2 separate regions of the Homo sapiens genome follow, and region 2 is linked to region 1. The links are contacts of gene promoters, found by promoter capture Hi-C in blood cells and fetal thymus (Javierre and others, 2016). All regions are on one chromosome and are shown on one strand. Each heading gives the region's core, a stretch centred on a gene start or on the middle of the fragment in contact. The rest is flanking DNA. Distances are from core to core; before and after follow the strand shown.

The links. The method cuts DNA at HindIII sites, captures the fragments that hold promoters and counts their contacts. A CHiCAGO score of 5 or more calls a contact.
Region 2: a fragment that was not itself captured here is called in contact with the fragment with the promoter of PHETA1 in region 1 in 1 of 17 cell types (M1 macrophages); the score reaches 5.9 in M1 macrophages.

What each region holds. Positions count from the first base shown.
Region 1 is chr12:111,364,872-111,371,920 of GRCh38, reverse strand. PHETA1 (PH domain containing endocytic trafficking adaptor 1) reads left to right here and starts at 2,826. Exons shown (of 3, transcript NM_144671.6): 1 at 2,826-3,009; 2 at 5,664-5,808. LINC02356 (long intergenic non-protein coding RNA 2356) reads right to left here and starts at 2,660. Exons shown (of 4, transcript NR_187522.1): 1 at 2,601-2,660. RefSeq lists a silencer at 2,656-3,235. The HindIII fragment of the contact is 8,438 bases long and covers 2,255-7,049 here.
Region 2 is chr12:110,942,879-110,949,927 of GRCh38, reverse strand. No RefSeq gene overlaps it. Among named protein-coding and RNA genes, the nearest start is that of VHRT, 9.8 kb to the right of the region's middle. The HindIII fragment of the contact is 1,468 bases long and covers 3,111-4,578 here.

The DNA of each region.
Region 1 (7,049 bases), core at 1,577-4,076:
TTTGACTGCCCCACTGGATTTCAGACTTGCATGGGCCCTGTAACCCCTTTGTTTTGGCCAATTTCCCCCATTTGGAACGGCTGTATTTACCCAATACCTGCATCCCCACTGTATCTAGGAAGTAACTAGCTTGCTTTTGATTTTACAGGCTCATAGGCAGAAGGGACTTGCCTTGTCTCAGACAAGACTTTGGACTGTGGAATTTTGGGTTAATTCTGAAATTAGCTAAGACTTTGGGGGACTGTTGGGAAGGCATGATTGGTTTTGAAATGTGAGGACGTGAGATTTGGAGGGGCCGGGGCAAAATGATATGGTTTGGCTGTGTCCCCACCAAAATCTGAACTTGATTTGTATCTCCCAGAATTCCCACGTGTTGTGAGTGGGACCCAAGAGGAGGTCATTGAGTCATGGGGGCCAGTCTTTCCTACGCTATTCTTATAATAGTGAATAAGTCTCACGAGATCTGAAGGGTTTATCAGGGGTTTCCGCTTTTGTTTCTTCCTCACTTTCTCTTGCCACTGCCATGTAAGAAGTGTCTTTCACCTCCCGCCATGATTCCAAGGCCTCCTCAGCCATGTGGAACTGTAAGTCCAATTAAACCTCTTTTTGTTCTCAGTTTCGGGTATGTCTTTATCAGCAGTGTGAAAACGGACTAATACATATATCCATTAAATATATATCTATACTTAACCACTTCTCTCCACCTCCACTGCTCCACTCTAAGCCACCACCATCACTTGCTTGGACTACTGCAGTAGTGTTCTCCCTGATCGCCTGGCTTCTACTATCATTCCCTGCCCATAGCAGTCAGGGACCATGTTAAATCTAACACAGACCATGTCCCTCCTCTGCTCAAAACCCTCCCATGGCTCCTCATTCTTCTTAGAGTAAAAGCAAAATCTTTCCTCTGGTCCTTAAGCCCCTAGGTCACCTGGCTTTCTGGCTTTGCCAATAATCTCTGATCTATTGTGTTTTTTTTTTTGTTTTTGTTTTTTTTTTGTTTGACAGAGTCTTGCTCTGTCACCCAGGCTGGAGTGCAGTGGTGCAATCTCAGCTCATTGCAACCTCTGCCTCCTGGGTTCAAGTGATTCTCCTGTCTCAGCCTCCCAAGTAACTGGGATTACAGGTGTACACCACCATGCCTGGCTAATTTTTTTTTTTTTTTTTTTTTGTATTTTTAGTAGAGACCGGGTTTCACCATGTTGGCTAGGCTGGTCTCGAACTCCTGACCTCAAGTGATCTACCTGCCTCGGCCTCCCAAAGTGCTGGGATTATAGGCGTGAGCCACTGCGCCCAGCCAGCTGACCTATTTTCCTACTATTCTTCCCATTGCTCACTTGGCTCCACTGGTCTCCTCGTTGTTCTTCAAACATGCCCAGGATGGCCCCATTTCAGGGCTTTTGCACTTGCTGTTCCCTCTGCCTGGGACCTCCTTCTCCCAGATAACCACATGGCTCCCTCCCTCATTCCTCCAGGTCTGTCCTCAGAGAGGCCTTCCCTGACCACCTTGTCTAAAAGCTGCACTTCCAGCTTGGGCAAGATAGCAAGACCCCCCCGATCTCTACAAAAAATTAAAAAAAATTAGCCGGGTGTGGTGGTACACACCTGTAGTCCCAACTACTTGGGAGGCTGAGGTGGGAGGCTCGGTTGAACCCAGGAGTTCAGGTTACAATGAGCTGTGATTGTGCCACTGCACCCCAACCTGGGTGACAAAAAAACACAAAAAACAAAAAACAAAAACAAAAAAACTGCACTCCCAGGCTTTCTGCCCCATTGCCTTAGCGTACAGTCCTAGCATGAATCACTTCCAGAACTCATTTGTGTTGTCTTGATTCCTGGCTGCACCTGCTTACCTGGTTCAGGTACAGTGCCTGGCACACAGTAGGCGCTTAGTGAGAGGCTGTACAATGGAGAGCTGACCCTGGTCTGTCCTGTTCTTCCTGCTTTCAGGCCAGGACTTAATAGTGATTGGGAGGTGGCGGGTGGTGGAGAAGAGGCGGCAGGAACAGGAAGGAAGGGTTCAAGGAGGTGGGCAGGGCAAAAACAACAGCAATTCCTATTTCTTGAGAGCTTTCTGTTGTGCCGTGCACTTTACATATCATGATGGTCTTTATTTTCCGGATGAGGAAACGGAGGCTTAGAGAAGTGAAATGATTTCTCTAAGCTCACACAGTGTTCAGTGGCCTAGTGCGACTCGAACTCAAGTCTGCCTAATTCCAGAACTTCCTCTCTTCACCTGGAGCCAGGGGAAGCTTGCGAGGCGCCCTGTCCGTATGGAACAGTGCTGTACGCAAATGTCCTGGATTCAGCTGTTTTTTCTGCCACTCACACATTTTTCAGGAATTAGAGCTATTTTTCTAATTTAACTGGGCATTAAATTTGCTAAACCTGGCAACCCAGGTTTAGCAAATATTTTTATTATTTGTAGAGATGGTGGTCTCCCTCTGCTGCCCAGGCTGGTCTTGAACTACTAGGCTCAGGCAATCCTCCTGCCTCGTCCTGGGGGGAGTTCGGACTTAAGCCTAGGACTTCAGCGAATGGCCCGCCCAGGACCCCCAAATGCTTTTGCAGGCTAATCCACGACCTGGGCCAGTCCTTACCTTTGGAATCGCAATGAGCTTCCCGGGCTCCAATCCGCTTTTCTGGGCTAGGGAACTGGGGAGTCGCGAGCCAGGAGCGGACCCTTTAAGAGTGATTTCGAGGGCGGGCTCACGGGGGCGTGCCGGTTCGGGGCCTGCCAATCGGGAGGTGGGAAGAACGCGGGGGCGGGCCCGGCGCGAGCAGGCTGGGAAGGGTTAAAGGGGCGCGCCCGTGGGTCGCGGACTGTCCGGTTGCTCCCGCCTCCTTCCGTCGGATCCGCGCTCTCCCGCGGCTGCGCCGGCCCGGCCGCCCAGGAGACAAAGCGCTGCCGCCGCCGTCGCCGCCACCGGGCCAGTCCCGAACCATGGCCGGGCCACCCCGCAACCTCGCGCCTCCCGTCCCGTCGCCGCCCTAGGCCTGCGCTGCGAGGTAAGGCGGGCCTGGCGGGGGGACATGCACGAGGACATGGGACCCGGGTCGGGCCGCCCTGGGCCTCGGGGTCCCCCGGCCACCTGGAGAGCGCGTTGCGGGGATCTTCCCCGCTGGGACTCCGCACCAGTGGTGACTTCTCCAGCTGCCGAGGCGAACTTGGCCAATGACCACCCTCCCCTCTCTCAGCCCATAGGGACGTCTGCCGCTGGTGGGGACTGCGGATAAGCCCCCCATTCTGCCGCTGATCACCCATCTGGGGCTCTGGCTGTCCTTTAAGGAACTTAAGAGAGCTCCCACGCACAACACACAAAGGGACAGAGAGCAGCCGGGAGCAGGGCCACACCTGGAGCAGCAGCCCCTGCCGTGGACAAGGGGGCTGCCTGTGTCTGGACGGCGGTGCTGGCGTGTCTCTGGGGTCCCTGCTGGGGCGGTGACGGCCAGGCTGCTCTTTAGTGTTCTTGGCACACATGTTTTTCAGCCTGTGCCTGCCACACCCTCTTCCCCACGCCCGCTGCTGGGGGACACTGAGGGCAGCTGGATTCAACCCCAGGACCTGCGGTACTGGCTTCTTTTCGTTGATGTGAGTGCCAAAATGCCATGCTTCAGTCTCCCAGGAGACCTGGGTTCCGGGGCCAGCTGTGCCCCTGGAGATCTTGGATGAATTATTTGCCTTTTTGACAGCTCTTTCCCTGAAAGCTCACTACCCACCAAGTATTTTGCAAAATGACTCTTCAGGAGTCAATTCACTCAGCCCTTAGAGGGATGGAAGTTAACGTCACCATTTTGCAGATGAGGCTGAGAAAAAACTCCGACTCACAGCAGCTAATATTTGCAATCCATTTCCCATAGTTTGCCAGTGGGTTTTCCTTCTTTTAGCTCATGAACCCTCGCCACACAGCCCAATTTAACAGATGAGGACACTGAGACTTGGAAAGGTGAAACGACTTGTCCAAGGTCCTCCAGCCTGGACCTGCGGAGGCAGGAACTTTGCCTTGGGAGCAGAGCTGGGCCAGGCTCCCTCCAGCTTCCTGTCTGGCCATGGGCTGTTGAATCAGCAGCAGTGCCCACAGTGGACTCTGAACTTCTTGGAAAACAGTGTGGGGAGATAAGGCAGGGGCCAGGCCTTCGCTCCAGGCAAGGCTGGCGCCTGTGCCCCTGCAGCTTCCTGTCTTCCCAGTTCTGGTGGAGGCAGGGGTCATGGGCAGAGCTGGGTCCTGTGCCTGCTGGTGACCTTGAACCAGTTTGGCCTCTATCTAGGCAGTCGGGGGAGGAGGGTTGCTGAGCAGGAGGGAAGTTGCTATTCCTTTGGCCTTGATGGGGTGGAGAGACCCCAAGATCAGCCCCTTTATTTGGGTGGCTTGCCTGGAGCATGTGATTCTGGGCACAGTTGTATGCCTCTAGCCAACTTATTGAATCTCCCTGTGTCCATTTCCACATCTGTGAATGTGGGGTGAGATCCCTTGTCTTGGGGCTGTTGAAAGGTTTCAGAAGATACTGCAGAATGAATCAAACAGCTGTGTGAGTACCTACTGCATGCCAGGCACTAGAATTCAGACCACAAACGCCCCTGCAGGCAGAAATGACCCAGGTATTAATTTCAGGTGGAGGCACAGGAGAGGGACTGGGGGGCCTCTTGTGCATAGGGTGGCCAGGGACCACCTCTCTGAGGAGGTGACAGCTAGGCTGAGACCAAAGGATGGGGAGCTGGCCTTGTGAAGACCTGCAGGCAGACAGCCGGGACCAAGTCTTGGAGGTGGGGATGTGTCTGGTGTATTTGAGGAACAGAAAGGAGGCCAGGATGGCTGGAGCTGAGTGAACAAGGGGGAAAGAGGTAGGGAAAGGGAACTTGGAAGCCAAGGGAGGCTTGGATTTTTTTTTTTTTTTTTTTGAGACAGAATCTCACTATGTCACCCCCCAAGTTCAAGGGGTCCTTCCATGTTAGCCTCCCAGATAGCTAGGACTAGAGGCTTGTATCACCATGCCCAGCTATTTTTTTTTCTATTTTTTATAGAGATAGGGTCTTGCTATGTTGTCCAGGCTGGTCTCTAACTCAAGCAATCCTACCCCCTCAGCCTCCCAAAGTGCCAGCATTACAGGTGTGAGCCACCGCACCCTGCCTAAGGATTTAATTTTATGCTGAGAGAAGTAGGGAGCCATGGGAGGGTTTAGAGCAGAGGAGGAGTGTGATTGGACTTAATTTTCACAGGATCCATCTGTGGGAAGTGGATTTCAGTGTGGCTCGGAGAAGAGCTTAGGAAGGAGGCTTGGATCTTACCTTGAGGAACATGGACAGGGAGGGGCAAGGAGACTTATGAGGAGGCTACAGCAGCCATCCCAGTGAATGGTGATGGGGCCTAGAATGGGGAGGTGGAGTGGACAGATTAGGCAACTGATTTGGAAGACGCTGGAGAGGGGGATCAACTGGACTTGATGTGCGATCAGATGCGGGGGTGAGAGGGAAACCAAGGGCCATTTGCTGAGATCGGAAGCACAACACAGGGATGTTTGGGGAAAAGCCAAGAAAAATGTGAACTGCAACCGCGCTCAGCAGGCACTGTGTGCCTGGCCCCATGCTCCGCAAAGTCCATATAGTCACTGTATCATTGTCACAACAGCCCTGACTTAGGCACTGTTACGATCCCATTTTACAGATGCAGAAACAGAGGCCCAGAGAGATGAATAGCCTGCCTGGGGTCCCCCAGCCCAGATGCTGCAGAGCTGACATTTGAATCCAGAGAAGAGCGAGCTGAGGCTGGAGCTGAGCAGAGGGCAGGGAGGCAAGTGGTGGCCTGAGAGGTAGGAGCGGAACTGGGCAAGCAGGGCGGGAGGGTCCTGTGAGAACCGGGGCCAGCATCCACATGGGAGTTGATGGGTGGTGGTGTGGGGAATGCGTGAATCCCTGCGGCTTAGAGAGGGACAGCTGTAGCTGAGAGGCAGGGTGGGGATTCAACACCTGGAGACTTTGGGGGCTCTGGCCTTGGCCTCCCACTAGGTCAGGACAAACTGACCTCAGTTTCTTTTTTTATTTTAAGTTCCATGATACATGTGCAGAACATGCAGGCTTGTCACATAGGTATACGTGTGCCATGGTGGCTTGCTGCACCATTGACCCGTTCTCTAAGTTCCCTCCCCTCACCCCCGATCCCCCAACAGGCCCCGATATGTGTTCTGCCCCTCCCTGTGTCCATGTGTCTCATTGTTCAACTCCCACTTATGAGTAAGAACATGCGGTATTTGGTTTTCTGTTCCTGTGTTAGTTTGCTGAGGATGATGGCTTCCAGCTCCATCTATTTCCCCGCAAAGGACATGATCTCATTCCTTTTTATGGCTGGATAGTTTTCCATGGTGTGTATGTACCACATTTCCTTTATTCAGTCTATCATTGATGGGCATTTGGGTTGGTTGATCTCAGTTTCTAAGTCACAACTCATGTTCCGTCTTCTAGGAAGCCTTCCCTGACTGCCTATGTGGCTGACAGGAGGTGGCAAGGACAACCCCCTCCACCCTAGGACAGGTAGTCTGGCAGGGCCTCACTGCGGTCACCTGCTCCCAGGAGAGCCACCACCCTGACCTCATTCCACCAGGCTCTGAGAAAGACACCACCCAGGCAGGGGAATGAACACTGAGTGCCTACTGCGTACCAGGACTTTATATCCTTTGCTTCTTGAAAAATGTAGCTACCATCCTATGCAGGCTGAGGCTCTGCAGTGGGAGATAAGGCAGGCTCTCAAAATGGCCATGGAAAACCCCAAGGGAAGGTGGCCAGGCCAGGGACGCAGATGCCACCTCCCGACAAGTCCTTCCTGGCCAGCGTTGCCCCATCATATACTCCTTGGGGGAAGGTGGATGGGGTCACTGTGGCCGATGGCATGGAGTTAGAGTCCTCTATGCTAAATGGCACGGGTCGACCCCCTGCCCCTCCTTCCTGTAAGTCAGCCTAGCCCTGGGCCTGCATCTTTCCCCAAATTCTTTCTTTTTTTTTGAGACGGAGTCTGGCTCTGTCCCCAGGCTGGAGTGTAGTAGTGCAATCTCGGCTG
Region 2 (7,049 bases), core at 2,595-5,094, 420 kb after region 1:
CTGGGCTGGGCACGGTGGCTCAAGCCTGTAATCCCAGCACTTTGGGAGGCCCAGGTGGGTGGATCAGGAGGTCAGGAGTTTGAGACCAGCCTGACCAACATGGTGAAGCCCCGTCTCTACTAAAAAAATACAAAAATTAGCTGGGCACAGTGGTGCGTGCCTGTAGTCCCAGCTACTCGGGAGGCTGAGGCAGTAGAATCGCTTGAACCCGGGAAGTGGAGGTTGCAGTGAGCCGAGATCGTGCCACTGCACTCCAGTCTGGGCAACACAGTGAGACTCTGTCTCAAAAAAAAAAAAAAATTAGTGGTAACTGGTTTTACTTTCTTTTTAGCTTTAAAGTTTTTTTGGCGGCAATGTGAATACATTCCTATACTTCTGCCCACTTAATTTGTTCTTGGCCATTGTCTTTGATACTCATGTGTAGCCACTCAAGCCCCAGGTGACACCATCTACACACACTGGAAATATGAAATTTTTTGAGGCCCAACATGTTGTTCAAAGGAAATGCTCACTGCAGCATTTTGAATTTTAATTTTCAGATTAGGGAAGCTGAACCGATAAGCATAATACGAATATTCCAAAATCTGCCCAAACACTTCTGGTCCAAAGTATTTCAGATAAGGGATACTGAACCTGTATAAGCTGTTCATCTAAGCTATATTAGATATGTCTTCTTATCAAATTGTTCCATTAAACTATAATAAAGATAAATCAATGGCAAAAAAAAAAAAAAAAAGAAAATTTTTGTGACCTTGGGTTAGGCAAACGGGATGTTCTTAGACACACTATCAAAAGCATGAGCCATAAAAAAATTGAAAAAGTGATCTTCATCAAAATTAAAACCTTCTGCTCTTTGAATAACTCTTTTAAGAGAATGGAAATGTGAGCCATGGACTGAGAGAAAATGTTTGCAAGTTACACATCTGAATTAAAGAAAAACAAAAACTTGTATCCACAATACATAAAGAACTCTCAAGACTCAATAATAAGAAAATAAACAGCCCAGCTTTTATAATGGGCAAAAGATTTGAACAGACATTTCACCAAACAAGATGGCAAATAAACACATGACCAGTTGTTTAGCATTATTAGTCATTACAAAAATGCAAATTTAAACCACAATGAGACACTACTACATACCTATTAGAATGGTAAATTTAAAAGACTGGCTATACTGAGTTGAATAGGGTCGCCTCCAAATTCATGTCCACTGGAACCTCAGAATGTGACTTTATTTGGAAATAAGATATTTTCAGATAATTAGTTAAAGCAAGGTAATAGTGGATTAGGGTAGGCCCTAAATCTACTGACTGACTGTTGTCCTTAAGAAGGCCACATGAAGACACAGAGACACACAGAGAAGAGAATGCCATGTGAAGCCAGGGACAGAGATTGGAGTGATGTATATATAAGCCCAGGAATATCTGTGGCCACCAGAGCTGGAAGAGGCAAGAAGCTCTCTCCCTGAGAGCCTCCAGAGGGAATCAACCCTGCTGACTCTTGACTTTAAACTTCTGGCCTCCAGAGCTGTGAGAAAACACGTTTCTCTTGTTTTAAGACCCCCAGTTTGTGGCAATTAATTACAGCAACCCTTGGAATCTAATATATTGACCATTCCAAATGCTGGGGAAGAATGTGGAGGAACTGGAACTCTTGTACATTGCTGATGGGAATGTAAGATAGTACAAGCGCTTTGGAAACCAGTTTGGCAATTTTTTTAAAAAAGTTAAACACCTGCTGCAGGATCCAGCCATTCTGCTCCTAGGTATTTACCCAAGAGAAAAGAAAGCTGTGGTAGGCAAAATAATGGCCCCTGAAGATGTCCATGCCCTAATCCCTGGAACCCATAAACATGTTAAATTACATGACAAAGGAGACTTTTTAGATGTGATTAGATTAAGGATCTTGAGATGGAGAGATTGTTCTGGATTATCCAGGTGGGCCTGATGTCATCACAAGGGTCCCTATAAGTGAAAGAGGGAGGCAGAAGAGTGAGTGTGAGAGTGACATCATGTGACAAGACTTGACTTGTCATTGCTGCCTTTGAAGATGGAGGAAGGAGCCACAAGCCATAAATTCAGGTGGCCTCTAGAAGCTGGAAAAGGCAAGGGAATAGATTCCTCCTAGAGCCTCCAGAAGGAATGCAGCTGTGCTGACACTTTGATCTTATCCCAGTGAAACTCATTTTAAAATTCTGACCCCCAGAACTATAAAATAATAAATTTGTGTTGTTTGAAGCCTCTACGTTTGTGGTGATTTGTTATAGCACCCATAGCAAACAAATACAAAAACATATATCCACACAAAGACTTGTAAGCATCAATGTCCATAGCAGCTTTATTTGTAATAGACAAGTATCCACCAATATGGATAAACAAATTATGGAATATCCATACAATGGGATTCTACTCACATACTGCATTATTCCCTGTATATGGCATTCTGAAAAGGGCAGAACTTCAGGGACAGAAAATAAATGAGGAACTGCCAGGGGCTGGGTGGGTGATAGAAATGACTACAAACCTATACAAGGGAAGTTTTTTGGGTGATTGTAGTGGTAGTTACGTAATTATATGCATTTGTTGAACTTACAGAACTATACCCCTAAAAAGGGCAAATTTTTCTCTATATAAATTTTACTTCAGTAACTTTGACTTAGAAAATGGAGAGGTGAGAGACACAGCAAAGAAAAAGAAGGAAATGGCTGGGCGCAGTGGCTCACACCTGTAATCCCAGCATTTTGGGAGGCCGAGGCAAGTGGATCACCTGAGGTCAGGAGTTTGAGACCAGCCTGGCCAACATGGTGAAGCCCCATTTCTACTAAAAATACAAAAAATTAGCTGGACGTGGTGGTGCGCACCTGTAATCCCAGCTACTTGGGAGGCTGAGGCAGGAGAATCTCCTGAACCCGGGAGGCGGAAGTTGCAGCGAGCTGAGATCATGCCATTCTACTCCAGCCTGGGCGACAAGAGCAAAACTCCATCAGAAAAAAAAAAAAAAAGGAAGGGCCTCAGACCAAATATTGAATCCAGGTGGGATTGTAAGTTCCTTTAAGACACAAGAAAGATTTATGGCAGTGCCTCATAGAACCTTTCCAGTACAGAAAAGCTTCTCTAAGGATCTATAGGCCATGCCTCACAGGCACTTTCCATTATATGACAAGCCTTTTTAAGATCTTAAAGGCATTGATCTACAGTGATCTCAATGGGAACCCACGGTAGAAAGGGCTTATCTCAAAGAGATTTGTGATTTTGGCTTTTCTTTAATGGCATGAATCTCAATAAGATTCGTAGGAAACACACAGTGTTTTTAATAGAATTGTTCTGGTGGAAGCTGTGCCTGCTTGAACTAAAAGGAACTGAGAGAATAGAAAATAAAATGAGGTCTTTGGTTTTCCAAACTTCTATAGGTAGGAAGCAAGCCAAGAAAAACCCTCAGCTGCAAACATGGCTGTACTTTATGGAAAATAACAGTGACTCAGAATCATATCTAGGGAACAATCCTGAGTCCCAGTCAAGGAATTGGCAACATTTAGCAACATTTGCCCAGCTGGATTTTAGAATTGTTATGGACCAGTGATTTACCTCCTGTTTTCTACCTCTTTAAATGTGAGTGCCTGTAACAGTTGTCTTGTGCCTGACCCATGACTGCATGTTGAGTGTGTAAGAAGCAGTTAATTTGCTCTTTATTTTACAGATGTTCAGGTCAAAAAGAAAAGTACTCAAAGAGCTGTCCCCAAAGTATCATACCTGAGGAGCATAATGTGGGCCTGGACCTGATTTAGATAATAAAATCCTGGACCTTGATACTAAGCCTGATCCTGTAATGGGATGAAACTCCTGGGAGGTCTCAGAGGAGTGTATTTTACATGTGAAAGGGATATGAATTGTTGTGGCCAGAGAGTGAGCTTGGCACATTATATTTTCCAAAAAATGTCTGCAGTAATATTTCCCAGCCCACATGCCCTTCTGGAACTTTGCAACTCCTCCATGAAGAGGTGGAATCTATGTTCCATCCCCACTTGAACTTGGTTTGGCATTTATGCCTTTCTTGACTGGTGGAGTACAGTAAAAGTGATACCATGTGACTTCTGAGGCTAGGTCACAAAAATACCGTATACTTCTGCCTCGATTTACTGAGATGCTCAATCTTGAAACCCAGCCACCATGCTGTGAGGAAGCCCAAGTAGCCTTTGAAGAGACCCAGATGGAGAGGAACCAGAGTTCTCAGTCTAATGCCTGAGGTTAGGCTGAGCTCCTAACCAATGGTTAGCACCAAGACGCCACGTGAGTGAGCCATCTTGGAAGTGGATCTTCCCACCCACATTGAGCTGTGTCAGCTGAAGCCCCATGCAACAGAGACAAGCTGACCCCACTAAGTCCTGTCCAAATTGCTGATTCACAACCAAAATAAATGATTATTATTTATTTCAAGCCACTAAGTTATGGGGTACATTGTTACACAGTAATGAATAAATAGAACCTTTACCTAGAGGTCTCTAAAAATAGTATAGAAATGAACCCAGAGCCAAAGCAATAAGAAAAATATTGATAGATGAGTATTTTAAAATGTAAAGCTTCTGCATACCAAAAAGAGTCACAGACAACATTAAAAGTTAAAGATATCCGTTTCCAGGTATATACACACAAGAATTGAGAGCAGGGACTTAAAAAGATATTTGTATACCCATGTTCACAGCAACACTATTCACAATAGCCAAAAGATGGAAACAATCCAGGTGTCCATCGATGGATGAATGGATAAGCAAAAATGTGGTCTATCCACACAATGAAATATTATTCAGCCTTAAAAAGGAAGGAAGTTCTGACATAGGCTACAACATGAATGACACTTGAAGAATCATGCTAAGTGAGATAAGCCAGACACACAAAAAAGATAAATATTGTATGATTTCACTTATGTGAGATTCCTGGAGTAATTATAGAGACAGAAAGTAGAATAAGGGCTACCAAGGGCTGGGGGAGGGAGAATGGAGAGTTACTGTTTAATGGGTGCACAGTTTCAAATTTTGGTGATGAAAGTTTTGGAGATGGATGGTGGTGATGGTTGCACAACAGTGTCAATGTACTTAATGCCACTGAACTGGACTCTTTTTTTTTTTGAGTTTCACTCTGTCGCCCAGGCTGGAGTGCAGTGTTGTGATCTCAGATCACTACAACCTCCACTCCCAGGTTCAAGAGATTCTCCTGCCTCAGCCTCCCAAGTAGCTGCGATTACAGGCATGCACCACCGCACCCAGCTTTTTTTTTTTTTTTTTTGTATTTTTAGTGGAAACAGGGTTTCACCATGTTGGCCAGGCTGGTCTCGAACTCCTGACCTCAAGTGATCCACCCCACCTCAGCCTCCCAAAGTGCTGGGATTACAGGCATAAGCCACCGCACCCGGCCTGAACTGGACTCTTAAAAATGGTTAAAAGGGTAAATTTTATGTTATGTGTATTTTACCACAATAAACAAGATAATTCAAAGACAAATAGAACACTGGAAAAATATTTGCAAAAATAACGGCTTTATATTGCCAGTTTTTAAAAACATAAGCAAAGATAGAAACATGCAATGCAAAATAAGAAGAATTAGGATGAGGAGGAGAAATAAAAATGGCTAAAAACCAATTTGGAAATATATCCAATCTCTCTAGTGAGCAGTTTTAGTGGTGTGTGGGATAATATCATATATAGCTGTTGAGCGTGTAAATTAGCATCTTTCTGGAAGGCAGTTTGGTTCTATGCATGAAATCTTTTTTTAAAAAGTTCCATGACCCCCCAATTACACTATTAGGAATTAAGTATAAAACAGTAGTCAGATGAAATACATACAAGGGCAAGCAATAGAGGATGGCTAATAATCAGACAAAAGTTTAAATCAACCTACAACCCCCAGTAAGAGGAGGTTCGTAAATAAATGCTGGCACAACCGTGGACTATGCAAACTTTAAAAGGGACGACATTCTTCTATATTTATTGACATGCCGAGGTGTGCATGACATATTTTAAGTGAAAAAGATGCAGATTAAGAGAAAATATGTACAGTATGGGGGCGGAAAGTGCATGTGTCTGAATACATTAGAAGTCTAGAAGAAATGTTAACCATGCTCATTTGTGGGTAGTGGAACTCCAGATAATTTTTTTCTTCCTTACACTCATCTTTCTTTTTTTTTCTTTTTCGGGGCTATGAGCATATATTCCATCAGAAAATTTTAGAAGACCTTTTTTTTTTTTTTTTTTTTTTTACACAATTACAGAAAAGCACAGATGTGGTCCTGGCTGGAGAGGGAAGAATCCCACTGCCCTTCTCATTTGAGGATCTCAAGGCACATCAAAAAACATCTGCTGAGGACTTGGCAAACCCTAAGATGTCTCGGTCAAAGTTGCCCTCCCTGGAGAGTTCCAGCCCCAGTCTGCTCCAAGTTCAGTCCACACAGAGCATTCACTGACACTCCTCAAATCCTCCATCATCTGTGCAAGTGGAGTAGATAAAGTTTATAAGAATCCAGGATCTCATCCACCACCTCTTTTCCCATCTTTCCATGGCATTGGGCTCCTCCTGGGACACCTGCTTCCCTGTTTTCTGTTGCTTCCTCCTGCCTTAAGATGGTGACATTGAGCAGACATGATCAAAAGATGTCCCCAGAAGCCAACCTTCTCTAAGCAGAGTCTGATTCTGGGTTCTCTGAATGCTGCCTCTCCACTACCCCACAAAGAAAGCTGAAACTGGGGAGGTTCTTGTTAAGGGAGAACAGTTTTCTTCTTGCCTTTCCTAGTGAGTTCTTTCTACCTGGAAGGTGCATGTGTGGCCTGGAGCTGCAGCAGCCATTTTATGTCCACAAGGAAGTCCCATATCCTAAGAAAATGAAGCAGGAAATTAGAAGAAACTGGTATCTTGGGTAGCTTCCTTGATGCTTTGCGTAGCTTTGAGTTGCCTGCCCCCAACTCTTTATTTTGTGAAATAAATTATGTTTAAGCTAGATTATCAGAGGTTTACAGGCAGAGATGATCCTAACTGATCTCTTGGGGTTTCCATCATGTCCAC